Regions from separate parts of the Homo sapiens genome. Here all the other regions are linked to region 1. The links are contacts of gene promoters, found by promoter capture Hi-C in human tissues and cell types (Jung and others, 2019). All regions are on one chromosome and are shown on one strand. The core of a region is centred on a gene start or on the middle of the fragment in contact, and the rest is flanking DNA. Distances in the headings are between cores, read along the strand shown. Region 1 holds the start of SLC17A9 (solute carrier family 17 member 9). Region 2 has its middle 28 kb from the start of MIR124-3. Region 3 overlaps HAR1A (highly accelerated region 1A).

Evidence for each region. Contacts are between HindIII fragments. The study calls those that stand out against the background at their distance.
Region 2: a fragment that was not itself captured here is called in contact with the fragment with the promoter of SLC17A9 in region 1 in 3 of the 25 tissues and cell types used here (dorsolateral prefrontal cortex, heart left ventricle and lymphoblastoid cells).
Region 3: a fragment that was not itself captured here is called in contact with the fragment with the promoter of SLC17A9 in region 1 in 2 of the 25 tissues and cell types used here (IMR-90 fibroblasts and small bowel).

Annotation. Positions count from the first base shown.
Region 1 is chr20:62,951,247-62,954,156 of GRCh38, forward strand. It overlaps SLC17A9 (solute carrier family 17 member 9), which reads left to right and starts at 1,463. Exons shown (of 13, transcript NM_022082.4): 1 at 1,463-1,643. The coding sequence starts at 1,585. RefSeq lists an enhancer at 873-1,702 and silencers at 1,254-1,573, 1,584-1,683. The HindIII fragment of the contact is 20,012 bases long and covers 1-2,910 here.
Region 2 is chr20:63,149,157-63,152,066 of GRCh38, forward strand. No RefSeq gene overlaps it. Among named protein-coding and RNA genes, the nearest start is that of MIR124-3, 28 kb to the right of the region's middle. The HindIII fragment of the contact is 7,630 bases long and covers 1-2,910 here.
Region 3 is chr20:63,104,363-63,107,272 of GRCh38, forward strand. It overlaps HAR1A (highly accelerated region 1A), which reads left to right. Exons shown (of 2, transcript NR_003244.2): 2 at 1-24. Among named protein-coding and RNA genes, the nearest start is that of HAR1B, 3.5 kb to the left of the region's middle. The HindIII fragment of the contact is 8,680 bases long and covers 1-2,910 here.

The sequences.
Region 1 (2,910 bases), core at 213-2,712:
GGAGAGCCTCCATCTGGCCACTACCAGCACCCAGCTTTATAATGTCCCTGTGAGATGGCCCCTTCACCCACCCAGCCATCCCTGCATGGCCCGTTTCTTCAGCTCATCCAGCCTTCACTCAGGTGTCCAGGGGTGCCTCCTCAGCCCAACCTATTTGAAGTAACACCCCTTCCCTACCCCTTTCACTACTTTGATTTTTGTCTACCTGCCCCAGAACATCAGCTCCAGGAGGAAGGGGACTTTGGGTAACCAGATGGCAAATGTCTGCTGCAGCATGATCACAGATCTCGGTAGGAAATCACCATCACAGAGTGAATGGAAGCGAATCACCTCAAAGAGGGTGCTGTTGACAGCGATACGTTTAGCAACAGTTTCCAAACTTCCTGGCTATGGGCTAGGGCTGTTTGGGGCAATAAACCTCTCTCTGCCACCATCTTTTCACCTACCCTACGTCAGGATGGATGAAAGTATGACCTTGCTTTTCAGGGTGCCCGTGTCTTTCTGTTCAGAGGGCCCTGGGAGCAGGCCCTGCAGTGCAGTGGGTTGGGCTGTTGGAGACCTGAGGGCTAGGGGGAGGGAGGGGGTAAATGTGGGTCTGTTCTAAGTGCAAGGCCCTGCCTTAGACGTGTCTCCCTCGGCCCCTGGGTGGTGGCTGCTGCGTGGAGGATGGACTGAGGTGGGCCCTAGTGGAGGTGGGGGCAACGCCTGAGGAGCAGGCCCTGCCGCCTCCTGGGGAAAGGCTGCATGGTTGAGGCCTTCCCCTGCTGGCTTCATCCTTGGCATGGCAGCAGGAGCACACAGAGTGGGGGCCCCACCCCGTCACCCCTGCCCCCGAGCCCAGAACCTGGCCTGTGATGGGTCCTCAGGACACCTTTTGTCCAGGAACCCAGGGGCCAATGACAACCTTCACAGGCATCTGCTGAGAAGACATGGGCCAGCGCTGGATTTGTCCAGCTCTCCCAGGCTTGGTCCAAGGGCTCAGGAGTGGACCCATCCCTGCCCCGAAAGATCCATTTTAAAAATCAGTGACCCTGTACTTTTACTCTCTTTGCACTTGGTTAAGACTTTATCCCTGATTTTATTTGATCGGTAAGGCAGGGACTGCCATCATTCCCCATTTTATAGACAGAGGACAGACGGCCCCATGGCTCCGTGTCGTGTCCAAGGGATGGGCTGGCACCTCTTGGACCAGGCTTACCACCAGGGCCCTTCTCTGAAGCCCCAGTCTGACCGGCCTGCTGCTGGGAATCCCCCTCTGCCCCCACACTAACCTCTGCTGGGGCTGAGCCAGGGCGCGTCGGACAGTCAGGGCGACCCAGCCAGGGCGACCGTTGGCCCCGCTCCTATGGGGCAGCAGGGACCGACGTCAGCAGGGTGGGGCGGGCACCCGAGTGGTATGCCCCGCCCTGCCCCGCCTGCCCGCCCTGGTGGCCGTCTGGGGGCGACAAGTCCTGAGAGAACCAGACGGAAGCGCGCTGGGACTGACACGTGGACTTGGGCGGTGCTGCCCGGGTGGGTCAGCCTGGGCTGGGAGGCAGCCCCGGGACACAGCTGTGCCCACGCCGTCTGAGCACCCCAAGCCCGATGCAGCCACCCCCAGACGAGGCCCGCAGGGACATGGCCGGGGACACCCAGTGGTCCAGGTGTGGCGGGGGTGAGGGGAGGGGGGGTGGGAGCGGTGGAGATGGGGCCGTGGGGAGGGAGCTGAGATACTGCCACGTGGGACGATGCTAGGTGGGGAGGGCTGAGCTGGGCGGGCTCCTCTGGCTGTGGGGCCCCCTGTGTTCCTTGTGGGAGGTGGAAGGAAGTGAGTGCCCTGTCCTTCCTCCCTGCCATGAGATTCCAGGACCGGACCTGGCAAGTGCCCTATCCCAGCCAGTGTTCCTGGGGCTCTTCCAGGCAGGGCTATGTTCCCCAGGCCAGGGGCATTGTCCTGGACAGTCAGGAGGCATACCCCTCGCCAGGTGGAACCACCCTGTGTATGCATGACCCTGACAAGCAGGCGCCAGGACAGTCAGGAGGCCAGGTAGGGGGCACGGGCTGGAGCCTGCAGCTGGACGGGGTTGGGGGGGGTCCTGCCACCACGTGCCAGCTGTGTGCTGAGGACGAGCTCCCCGCTGGCTTCAGCTCTCGGAGCATTTGGTGGTGGGGAGAAGCAGGGCCTGGGCAGGTCGCCTGGCCACCAGCACTGCTGCCTGTAGGAGGCTCCCTGGGCAGGTGACGCCTCAGAAACCGGGCGAGATGGTGACCGCGGGCCATTGGTCAGCTGGGGAGGGCCTCTGCCAGGGAGCTCCTGAGAGCAGCCCCCACACTGCTGAACCCCTTGGCTCTGGGTCTTGGGCTGAGGCCTTAAGTGGCTGGACCCTGGGCCTAGACTCAGGCCCTGTGGGTTCCAGAGCAGTCTCCTGCCTGCACTGAGTCCCCAGGGTACCTACCCTGACCATGGCAAGGTAATGGCACCTTCTGGCCCCACCAGTTCCCAGCTGTATGAGGGCTGAGGACCCTAGAAGTGCTGGGAAGAGTTGTAGGAAGGCCCAAAGGGGCAGTGCCACCATCGGATGTTGGCACCCAGATGAAGGGAGCGCTGGCTGCATGGGAAAAGCTGGCAGCCCAGATCACAGCCCTGTCAGGCGCCAATTAGAGGGGAGGGCTGCCCTCAGCGGGCCCTGCCCCTTGCTCTCTTCCTCTTCCCCCACCCACGTTCATCCAGGCCTGCCGGGCAGGGCCAGCTCCCCAGGGATTCAGGGCCTCCTCACTGGCGGCTGGTTTGAGTGGCTCCGCCTTCACTACGTCCCTCCCAGGCTCGATGTTTAAAAAGGAGCCCTTGCCGCAGCCTTCACTACGTCCCTCCCAGGCTCGATGTTTAAAAAGGAGCCCTTGCCGCAGCCTTCACTACGTCCCTCCCAGGCT
Region 2 (2,910 bases), core at 284-2,783, 200 kb after region 1:
GCATTTGTGTTCTGTTGGCAAAAGAGGAACCTGCTCTGCATGGTCCCAAGCAACGGACGGGAATGTTTAACTTGTGTATTGATCTGGCAGCTCTCCAGTGACTTGGGATTTGCCACAATAATTCACTTTCCACCTGGGTTTGTTTGTTTGTTTTTGAGAGAGGGTCTCGCTCTGCTGCCTAGGCTAGAGTACAGTGGCACAATCACGGCTCACTGCAGCCTCCACCTCCTGGGCTCAAATGATCTTCCCACTTCAGCCTCCTGAGTAGCTGGGACTACAGGCGTGTGCCGCCACACCCAGCTAATTCATATTTTGTTTTTTGTAGAGACAGGGCCTCACTATGCTGCCCAGGCTGGTCTTAAACTCCCTCCTGGCCTCCAGCAATCCTCCTGCCTAGGGCTTACAAAGCACTGGACCTACAGGCGTGAGCCACCACACCAGCCTGTCTGGGCATTTTGACATCATGCAGACGCAGCACAGAACTGACCTGAGGGATCCAACAGCTCACCCGCCCTGAGGTTTCTGGGTCTGCAGCTGGGCCCAGGCCTGCAGTGCACACAGCTGTTCCCAGCACGTGCCTGTCCCTTCGACTCAGTGCACACAAGAAACCAGATGAGCCCACGACTGCTGGGACCGAGGCTGCCTCGAGTCCCCCACAACCGAAATGTCCCCTCCAGACAGAGGCCTGGAACAAACAAGGCTCAACTAAAAATAGACTTAAGCATGAGAGATTCAGAGGAAGGCAGCTATTTTTGGTTTGGTGTGTTTTTGCAAGGAAAGATGAGAAAAAGAGGCTCCCTCGAGGCTGGAGAGGGAAGTGTGTAAGAGGGGCACAGGGGACTTGGGGAGAAGCCACAGCTCCTTTTGTCTGTCCTGGGCTGACTCGTCTGCCTGAAATGTTGAAATCCCGACCCCCAGGACTGCTAGGGGAGCTCTAGTTGGAAGCAGAGTCCTTGCAGATGTTATCGGTTAAGATGGGGTGACACTGGATTGGGGGGACCTCAAATTCAGTAACTGTCCTTATAAGAAGTGGGAGATACGGAGACACAGGTAGAAGCCACGTGAGATGGGGTGACAGTGATGCGGCCACCAGCCAACGGCAGCAGATTTCTCTGGTCGTTTCTCTGGCTAGAGAAATAACACCTCCCCGAGCTGCATGTGGTGCAGCGGGACCCACACGGTGACCCCGGCTGTGCGTCTGGGAGGGCGGTGGGTGCTGGACCCCTCCCCACCAGGAGATGAAACACGTGCAATGACAGCAACCCAGGCAAGTCCCCGGGGAGACTCAGAGCCCCGGGCGGGGAAGGGTGGGGAAGGGCTGTCCCAGGAGGAGGCACTTGCCAAAGAGGCAGTCGCCATGCTGTTGGCTGCAGGTCGGGGGGAGACTGAGACCCACCCAGGTCAGCAGGGGCTGGGAGCGCGGGTCAGCAGAACGCCCCAGGGAAACCGGGTGGGTGCAGCATCTGGGAGGGGATTTGCCCTGCGAGGCTCCTCGTGGGGCCCTTTAAGCCACCAGGTCTCCCAGTGGGATCAGAGCAGGATCCCATGGCCTGAGGTGGGGCTGCGTCTGGCTCCAGCCCCCACCCCTCATCTGTGCCCACGTGCACCCCAGCCCAGACCACGCCCAGCTGATCACAGGCCGGGCGAGCTTGAAGGTGCTTGGAGAGGTCAGAGTCCAGCCAGGCTGGGTCTCAGAGCGACCCCCGTCTCTAGCCTCAGACAAGGTGCCCCTCTCCAGCCCTCAGACACTGGCCTGGCCTGATGAGAGGGACATGGCTGGCAGAGGTTTCTTCCCAGGTTTGATCAGAGCCAGAGCAGGGGAAAGTTTCCCTGTTGGGGGTGTCGATACTTTGGGAAAATGGGTTCCTGGTCCCAAGGTTGACGTCCCCCTGGCAGAGTGGGCCGCACCGAGGTCAGGACACGAAGGGTCTTCTCCTGGGTCTGCTGGAGTCGGGGGCAACCTGCAGCCTTAGGGGTGGGGGGTGCGGGTGTCATGGACGTCAGCCCCACCTCCTCTCCTGCAGCCACCTGAGGCCCACCCACCTCCTCATCCCTGTGCCCAAACCCGCACCCTGGTGCCCAGCACTTGGGGGCGCCCACAGATGTGTCCGTGACCACCTTGGGAAGTGGCTATGCGTGTGCCGCAGCCCCACCGGGGTGGCTGGGAGGTGCCCTCGGAATGATTCATGCAGTGACTTCCCTGTGGCCTGGCCCATGGCAAGTGCTCTGGGGACGTGATGGTGGTGCAGGGAACATCGCCCCGGGCCTGCAGCTCCCGCCCACGAGCTGTGCCCAAACCTCCCCTCAGGCCTGCAGCTCCCGCCCACGAGCTGTGCCCAAACTTCCGCTAAGGCCTTGGGCCCAGCTGGATGCAGGGAGCAGGGGGTGCGCTGGGCAGAGAGGGGTCTCCAGGCAGGGACCTTAAAAAAGGATCCCTTCCGTGCTGCCGGTCAGGCCCCTCCAAGTACTCTCTGGAAAAGGATTTCAAAGTCCAGCCCCGTGCCGTCCACCCAGGCTTCCCTGAGAGCCACGCCCCAGGGCCCTGTTTCTTGAGAAAATCCCAGCATGAAAAACAGTTGGGAGGAAAACAGTTTGCTGGGTCTCCAAGGCCCCTCGGAGAGCACCCTCCCGAGGAGGCCTCTGAGCCACCTGGTGCCACCGGAACAGCTGCAGCCGCCTGGAGAGCCAGAGGGAGCCGGGTGGGGCCCGGGGGTGGCGCTGGCATCGCGGAACACCCCCGCCCGCGTTCCAAACGAAAGCACATCACCCCCAAGCGACGCGACCTAGGGGCGAGTTTTAAAAGGAGCACTTACTTATTTTTAGAGTGTGCTTTTCACTCAGGATCACACGACGGAGCTAAATTGCAATAAAAATAGTGCAATCCCGCCAGCAAGAAGCCCATTCGGCAAC
Region 3 (2,910 bases), core at 119-2,618, 150 kb after region 1:
CATAAATAAAGTTTTATTGACATAGCCATGCTCACTCTTTCTCATATTGTCCATGGCTGCTCGTGTGTCCAGGCACATACCAGGAGGCTACAGACGGAGCTGGATTCTTTCCGGCCCTTTGCTGGAGGCATTGCTGACCCCTGCTCTGAGGCTCCCCATGGCTCTCAGGATCCAGACCCCAGGCTTCCCAGGACATTGGGGGCCAATGGCTCCCTGAGTGCCCTCCTCCCCAGCTCTTCTCCCACCCCTGCCCCCCCAGGAGCCCTCACCATGTGCCACTCACTGCCCACGCAATCTGACCTGTGAAGGGCAGACAGAGGAGCAAGCCTGCCTGAAAAGGAGGACTCTGACTTTGCCACTCCGCTGCCCTGCCTGGCCCCACTGTGGTGTTACCAGGAAAGGCCATGGCAGAGGGACATGCCCACGAGCTGCCCTGGGGGAGAGCGGCTGGGGCAGGGAGGGCAGCACTGCCCTCAGAAAGCCCCGCGGTGGTGCCCCTACCTCCCCTGGGTTCCAGGAGTGTGGACAGACCCTGCTGGGAGCAGATGGCACTTCTGCAGCTGAGGCCTGCTGGACGCTGGGCCATGCCGGGGACTTGAGCCTGGGGCCACACGCTCCTCCTGGCCGATGTCACCACTCCTCTTCCAACAGTCTTGGCCCCGGGGTGGGCCTGCTCCCCGCCCACTCTCTGTGTGGACGGATCATTGCTGCCGCCCTCTGTTCCTCCCTCCCAGGACTCAGAAGAGGGGCCTGGTGTGAACAGGAGGCAACCGCTGACCCCTGGCCTGTGCCCACGCAGAGGCCACCTCCCAGTCTGGTCTCTCTGGGCCAGCCCCTGGAGTGTGCAAAATTGAAAAATAGAAATTCCTGGGAAGTGCTGACTCTCCTGCAGTGCTCAGAGGTTCGCCAGGCCTGTGCCTGTCTTGGCCGGGCCCACGGCTCTCAATGTGGTGGCCGCCATCCCGCCAGCCTTGGCCGCTCGGGGACTGTGGGCTGTGTGCCTCTGATGTTGCATGGGAGCTCAGATCCCCCATCTGTGGACTGAGGCCTCTCAGCCTGGTGGCCGCTAGACCCAAATAACACGTGGACCCGGCCCGGCCGGGTCAGACCCCATCGAACACTTGGGGGTTCCTGTCAATCACAGGCCCTATGCCTTGCCCGGTGCCTCAACGCCCACGGGGTCAGCCTGTTCCACTTCCTGACACCCTCCTCTGCACTGGGCCAGCCTGGCAACCCCACCTCCGCCACAACATAACCCCGGATCTGCCCCACCCCCACCCTCCCACAGAACGCCACTGCGCTCCCGCCCAAGTCAGTGTTTCAGGAGGAGCACAGCAGAAGGTGCAGGAAGCCGAGTCTGGCCAACACCCTCCAGAAACTCATTCCTGCATCCCCCTGGGAGACCTGGACTGGGACATGGGCACAGGGAGGACCTCTATGCTCTGGGGCGTGGGGGTGGGTAGAGTCAGGAGGGGATGTGGCAGGAAACATGCCCAGCCGCTCTCCGAATCTGCAGGAGGCACCTGCCATGCAGCTCGGACCTCCCTGGGCTTCCGGGCTTGGTGACCACAAGGCTGGGCTGAGGGTGGGGGCAGCTGGCCCAGTAGGGGCGGCGCAGGTGACCCAGAACAGGGGCTGTGGGAGGTTAAGGGCTTGCTGGAGCCAGGCTCCGGGGCTCCTGGAGGAGGGGAGACCACAGGAAGACCTGGTCCTGGAGGGTCCTGGCCCCGTGGGCACTCCGTCTTTCTTCCTAAGGAACAACCACACCTCTCCTGCAGCCCGAGCTTTTCTTAGAGACCAAGGAGGCCGAACAAGAAGCATATTTTCCACATAACCTTTGCTTTCCCATGGGAAGGGACGATGGCCTGCACTTGCTGGCAGTTTTGGAGGCATGCCCAGAAGTTTGTGTATCTGTGGATGCTGGGCCAGGCATGGGCGGGACCGTGTTGGGAGGGGCCTCGTTGCTGGTGTCGAGGGAATGAGCTCCTCACAGGCCTCTGGACAGTGGCCCCAGGGCGCCCAGCCCCTTCTTATCCTAATCGAGATCCCTAGAGGACACCCTGTGTCCCCTGAGTTCTCCAGGGCTGAGGCTATCTCTGCCCCATGTCTCAAGCCTCAAGAGGCTCCCCTCTTTCTTACCCGAAGAAACTGTGGTTGGCAGGACAACAACAGTCCCCCAAACGTGTCCACGCCCCAATCCCAGGACCCCGTGACCCTGTCCCCAAGTGGTACAGGAACTCTGCAGATGGGACTGAGTTAAAGACCCCGTGACTCTGCCCCCACGTGGCACAGGGACCCTGCAGGTGGGACTGAGTTAAGGATCTTGAGCCAGGAGGTCATCCCTGTATAATTCTATTCTATGCCATAATCTCTTTACATATAAAATAAACCTAATTGTATGTAATCTGTATTTATATATTTTATTTATGTTCCTTCCTCCTTATAGGAGCGAGGCAGGAAGTGAGGCCATGGGAGCAGAGGTCAGCGAGCTGCAGTGTGAGGATGGAGGAGGGGCCACAAGCCAAGGGATGCGGGCGGCTCCAGAGGGTGGGGTGGCAGGAAGCAGGTTCTCTACGGGAGGCTCTGGAAGGAGCCAGCCCTGCAGACAGCAAGATTTTAGCCCAGTGAGACCCGCTCTGACCTCCAGGACAGGAAGACGACACGTCGTACTGTTTTAAGGGCTCATTTTGTGGTTTGTGGAGGCAGCCACTGGTTCTGACACCAATCGACCCTGATTCCTCCAGTGAGTCCAAGAGCACAGAACAGACTCCCACTCTGGCTGAGGACACGGTGAGGGAACTGTGGTGACCCCAGTTCCGTTCATGTGGCTGTCACTCCAGGAGGATGGCTCTAGAGCAGGGAGGGGCCAAAGAAGGCGAAAGCAGACAACGGGTAGCCCATGCTGGGAGG